Regions from separate parts of the Homo sapiens genome. Here region 1 is linked to region 2. Evidence: promoter capture Hi-C in 16 types of primary human blood cells and fetal thymus (Javierre and others, 2016). All regions are on one chromosome and are shown on one strand. The core of a region is centred on a gene start or on the middle of the fragment in contact, and the rest is flanking DNA. Distances in the headings are between cores, read along the strand shown.

The links. Contacts are between HindIII fragments. The CHiCAGO score rates a contact against its expected background, and 5 or more counts as called.
Region 1: a fragment that was not itself captured here is called in contact with the fragment with the promoter of ABHD14B in region 2 in 1 of 17 cell types (erythroblasts); the score reaches 6.9 in erythroblasts.

Annotation. Positions count from the first base shown.
Region 1 is chr3:50,607,607-50,610,522 of GRCh38, reverse strand. CISH (cytokine inducible SH2 containing protein) reads left to right here. Exons shown (of 3, transcript NM_145071.4): 2 at 1,930-2,150; 3 at 2,381-2,916. The coding sequence ends at 2,916. Among named protein-coding and RNA genes, the nearest start is that of CISH, 2.7 kb to the left of the region's middle. The HindIII fragment of the contact is 1,077 bases long and covers 1,128-2,204 here.
Region 2 is chr3:51,972,736-51,975,435 of GRCh38, reverse strand. It overlaps ABHD14B (abhydrolase domain containing 14B), which reads left to right and starts at 1,387. Exons shown (of 4, transcript NM_001146314.2): 1 at 1,387-1,471. It overlaps ABHD14A-ACY1 (ABHD14A-ACY1 readthrough), which reads right to left and starts at 372. Exons shown (of 17, transcript NM_001316331.2): 1 at 232-372. It overlaps ABHD14A (abhydrolase domain containing 14A), which reads right to left and starts at 372. Exons shown (of 5, transcript NM_015407.5): 1 at 232-372. The coding sequence starts at 300. RefSeq lists silencers at 69-448, 1,279-1,448, 1,669-1,818 and enhancers at 1,049-1,228, 1,262-2,198. The HindIII fragment of the contact is 8,219 bases long and covers 1-2,700 here.

The DNA of each region.
Region 1 (2,916 bases), core at 417-2,916, 1.4 Mb after region 2:
CCCCCTTGTAAGCTCAGGGCTACTGTTGGGTGTCAGGGAACAAAGTTTTAGACTGCTGCGCTCCAAAGCGGGCACACACATGTACCTAGAACACACCAGCCACTGTCCCCACCATGATGATGACACAGCCATGGACACACCCCTGCCCAGGTACACACTCACCAGGAGCTTGTGGTGATCAACACAGCTATTCATACACCCAGCTACCACATCAGCCCCAAAGGTGCCCACACCTACATGTGGGATCTGAGGACCGGCTAAGCTATCTGGACGTGGCCACCCACAGAGGTTCCAGCCTGACTGGCTAGCCACCAACCATGCTCCTGGGAAGGTAGCTCTGGGCCCCAGCAAGCAGGTCATCTCAAAATTTGGCCTCCAGCTCTCCAAGAGGGATTTCCAAGATCCCACAGTACAGCCAGGGTAGGTGTGGAAAAGTTTTTGTCAGGCTGTGGTGTGCCAGAGTTGTGTGGCCCTTTCTCACTGTGAGTGGTCATAGGGCCATGATTTGTTAGAACCTAGAGGGTCACCTATAACCTACACAGGAGTCAGGTCTGGCTCCTGCCACCAGCTCCTGCCTGCGCCTTCCTGCCTCACAAGCAATACTGGCGCTGTTTGCCCATGCTGTCCTCTCTACCTGGGGTCCCTTCCCCCAGCTCCTTCCTTTGGCCTGGAAGACACAGCTCAGGAGCAAGCAGACCCTGACTCCCCCGTGACACCTGCAGTTTTATGACTTTGCATTATAATTACTCTTAGTGTCATCTTCCCCAGCCAGTCTGGTTCTCCTTGAGGGCAAGGCCATGGTTTCATTATGGCGGTGTCCTGAGGCCCAGCCAGGGACTAGACCCAGAACTAAGGCTTGGAGATGTATTTTGCAAGGAGTGAGGGAGGAGCAGCTGTCTTCCTGGGGAAGTAGAGCCAGTCCCTGCTGCCCTCCCAAGGAGGAAGCCCTAGTATCACCCTGCTGGGTGGGCTTCCCCTAGGAGAAAGCTGCTACTCAGATTTTGGTCGGCTCAGTTCCCCCAACCCCAGCCATCCAAGAATATGGTGTTACTGAACCTCTCAGTGCATGGGTTGGTGGGACCCTTTATTGCGGAAAAGGGAAACTGAAGCCCAGTGAAGAGCAAGCTTTGTACAAGATCGTAGAGCCTGGTAGGGCTGGCTTGCCAGGGTGGGAACTGGAGTGTGGATTAGGTCCCTGCCCTTGGTGGGAGCTCATACTGACAGGAGGTGAGACTTGCCAGTGCCTTTAGAGGCCACTGTCCACCCCAGACCCTCCACTGGGAGAAGCAGAGGCCAGGATAGGCTGACTTGTATGGGTAGGGGATTATTTCAGTCTCTAAGTCCTGGCCAGTGTGGACCTAGGTCCCTCTGAGAGACACTCCTATCCATGGGGAGGTAGCGTGTGACCTCAGGCAGCCTACCATAATCCTGGGGCTTCTCTGGAGGACCCCACACAGATCTATCATAGGATAAATCTACTTGTCTGTCGTAGATCTATCTCAACTAGGACCATTCATCAGTGGGCCATTTAATCAGCCCACTTCAGCCAGGAGGGCACAAACATGAAGCTACTTTGCACTGAATCCTATCAGTGTGGTGAGAACATTAGACATGCCTATAGGGAATGATCTGTGTTTTTGGTTGATATAAAATAGAGAGCAATTAATTACTGTTTAGTAAATGCAGGGCAGTGGAAAAGAATCTTTCAAAAGAGGATCCCCACATGGAAACAATCAAGGTGGCTTTTGTGATGACAAGTGGGGAACGAGATACTGGACTAACTGAGCCCATGGCTGGGTAGAGGGGAAGCTGAGGCTCATAGTGAGATGGGCCAGCCAGAGGTCATGAAACTAGTCTGGGGCATAGGGGGGTCTCTGGAGATGGGGGAAGCATGGGTCCTCCACTCACTGCTCATCCACTGCCTTCTAGACCTCGTCCTTTGCTGGCTGTGGAGCGGACTGGGCAGCGGCCCCTGTGGGCCCCGTCCCTGGAACTGCCCAAGCCAGTCATGCAGCCCTTGCCTGCTGGGGCCTTCCTCGAGGAGGTGGCAGAGGGTACCCCAGCCCAGACAGAGAGTGAGCCAAAGGTGCTGGACCCAGAGGAGGATCTGCTGTGCATAGCCAAGACCTTCTCCTACCTTCGGGAATCTGGTGAGTCTGAGGGGGGAGGCAGGCCTTTTCCTGAGTAGTCTGGTGGGAGAAGCTTAGTTCTGCCTTTGAGTCTGATTTGGGAGGCATAGCCCGGCCCAGGAGAGTCTGATGGGAGAGGCACAGCCCTCTCTAGGGAAGCGTGAAGCTGGAGGCACTGCCTTGACTTGCACTGGATTGGTTACCCCAGCTAATTTCCACTATGTCCCTTGGCCCCCTCTGCACTTGCCTAGGCTGGTATTGGGGTTCCATTACGGCCAGCGAGGCCCGACAACACCTGCAGAAGATGCCAGAAGGCACGTTCTTAGTACGTGACAGCACGCACCCCAGCTACCTGTTCACGCTGTCAGTGAAAACCACTCGTGGCCCCACCAATGTACGCATTGAGTATGCCGACTCCAGCTTCCGTCTGGACTCCAACTGCTTGTCCAGGCCACGCATCCTGGCCTTTCCGGATGTGGTCAGCCTTGTGCAGCACTATGTGGCCTCCTGCACTGCTGATACCCGAAGCGACAGCCCCGATCCTGCTCCCACCCCGGCCCTGCCTATGCCTAAGGAGGATGCGCCTAGTGACCCAGCACTGCCTGCTCCTCCACCAGCCACTGCTGTACACCTAAAACTGGTGCAGCCCTTTGTACGCAGAAGCAGTGCCCGCAGCCTGCAACACCTGTGCCGCCTTGTCATCAACCGTCTGGTGGCCGACGTGGACTGCCTGCCACTGCCCCGGCGCATGGCCGACTACCTCCGACAGTACCCCTTCCAGCTCTGA
Region 2 (2,700 bases), core at 138-2,637:
ACCCACTGACGGACACCATGCAGACACACAAGCGTACACATACACCCAGACCCCCAAGAACATATGCAGACCCTGCGCGCGCACACACATTACACGCGCGCACATGCACATTCGCGGCCCCAGCGTCTGCTTCTTCCGCGGGACTCTGCCCCGGGGCGCCGGGGCAAGGGGCGGGGTAAAGACGGCCCTCCCCTGGGCCACCGGCCGGCCTCCCTCCCCCGGGAGACTCACCGGGCCCAACGGGATGAGCGGGCGGGCCCCGCCCAGGCGGAACCAGCAGCCGCACAGCGCCCCGACCATGGCTGCCTCCGCAGCTCCGCGGGCCGCTCCGGCTCTAGGCGGCCAGGAGCGCGGCCATCTCGGCGCGCCTGCGCACTCCGCAGCCGCGGGCCTGCAACCCAGTTACCGAGTCGTCTGCGTGGAGGGGGTGCTGGGGGCAGAGCCCCAGCGCTCTCTGGCCCGCTCCCCGCCCAGATTTTCGGAACTGTTTTTGGCTTGAGAGCCGGCGGAGAGCCATGTGGCTTCTTCTCAGTGGAACATCTCCACCCTGGCTCAGTTCTCTGGCCTGTATAATGGAGTTAAGGATAAAACCCACCGCACAGGGTTGTCCTAGGTTCTTAAGGACGGGTCAAGCCTCAGAACAGTGTCCGGAGCAGAGGCCTCGTTGTGTAAATGCCAGATATTGTTATGCAGCAGCTCCAGGTCTTGGCCGACCCACTTTCCTGACTCCTACCCACTCCTCCCCACCCCCTCCCCGACGCACACCCACGGTCAGAGCCTGGGCTGGCCCTGGGCTCGTTCACGTCTACTCATGGCGCCTGCCCTGGTTGGCGATGTGTTACCAACGTCTGGCCTGTCCCAGCCCAAGGCTCCGCGTGGCGACCAGGCCCAGCACTGGGAGGCTGTGCAGAGCGTGGCGTTTACTGCTTATTGCTACTCTGCAGAGGTTGGCAACATCTGACCCGCTCTACTGGCAGGAAACAGGCTCGGGGGCATTGGGAAAACGATCAAGGCCACTTGGCTGGACACTGGCGGAGCCTCGCACTCAAACCTGTCGGGCCTCAACTCCGTGCCAGGCCAACAAGTTGCCCTGGGCAGTTCAAGCTGGGGATAAGGGGGATGGGGAGCAGGAAGACAGCAGCAAGGATGCGATCCCGAAGGAACTTTCCTCCTCAGACTGCTCCATGTCCATGTGGGGCAGGTCGCTGAAGAGTTCGAAACCGTGCTCAGCACCGCGTTTGGGGCATGTGAGACCGAGAGGCTTTGGGAAACTGACGCCGCTGTGAGAACGAGTTTAGCGGAGTCTATGGACGCTGCGAGCTTGTGGCCACAAGAGGGCGCCCCGGAGCACGGCCCAGTCCCCGCCCCCGCTGGATGGGGCCCGGCCTCTTCCCAGCGTTCCTCCTCCGGCCCCAGGTCACCGCCAGCACGCGCCTGCTTCCCGTCTGCGCGAGTCCACGCAGCTCCCCAGGTACCCGCCCTGCACTCCTGACCCTTTCTTCTCTCCAGTCAAAATCCAACCCCACCTACCCCAAGTCTTCCTTTCTCGGATCCCTGGGTCCCCTCCTTGGGAGTTGCCACCATTCCCTCCCGGTGCTCCCTTCCAGAGCTAGCGAGCCAGAACCGTAGTCCGCGGAAGCAACCTGACCGCGAGGTCAACGCGTTGGGCCCCAGGTGGCAGCGCGTTGAGCACCCCGCATCCCCGGCGGGTCGCCTTTCCCACTGGGCGCTTCGGTTTCCGCCTCTAGAAAATGGGCTTTCCGGTGTGGAAGCGCGCCTGTGGTTCCAGCTACTGGGGGTGAGCCGGGAGGATCACTTGAGCCCAGGAAGGTCAAGGCTGCAGTGATCCATGATTGCGCCACTGCACTCCAGCCTGGACGACAGAGCGAGACATCTTCTCTTAAAAAAAAAAAAAAGAAAAAAAAAAAAACCGAAGAAAATGGGCTTTTAGTTCCGGCGCGGTGGCTCACGCCTGTAATCCCAGCACTTTGGGAGGCCAAGGTGGGTGGATCACTTGAGGTCAGGAGTTCCGGACCAGCTCGGCCAACATGATGAAACCCCGTTTCTACTAAAAATATAAAAATTAGGCCGTGCACGGTGGCTCACGCCTGTAATCCCAGCACTTTGGGAGGCTGAGGCGGGCGGATCACGAGGTCAGGAGATCGAGACCACCCTGGCTAACACGGCGAAACCCCGTCTGTACTAAAAAAAAAAAAACAAAAAATTAGCCGGGCGTGGTGGCGCGTGCCTGTAGTCCCAGCTACCCGGGAGGCTGAGGCAGGAGAATGGCGTGAACCCGGGAGGCGGAGCTTGCAGTGAGCGGAGATGTGCCATTGCACTCCAGCCTGGGCGACAGAGCGAGACTCCGTCTCAAAAAAAAAAAAAAAAAAATTAGCCAGGCATGGTGACGCACGCCTGTAAACCCAGCTACTCGGGAGGCTGAGGCAGGAGAATCGCTTGAACCCAGGAGGTGGAGGTTGCAGTGAGCCGAGATCATGCCACTGCACTCCATTCTGGGCAACAAGAGTGAAACTCTGTCCCAAAATAAATAAATAGAATAAAATAAAATAAAATGGGCTTTTTACCCCAATTTGGGCTCCCTCTGGCCTGCATTGACAACTCATGACCTGTAACTTACCGTTGATTGAGCACTGAGCCCTTACTACGTGCTAGGCATGGTACATGCATGGCCTTATTTAA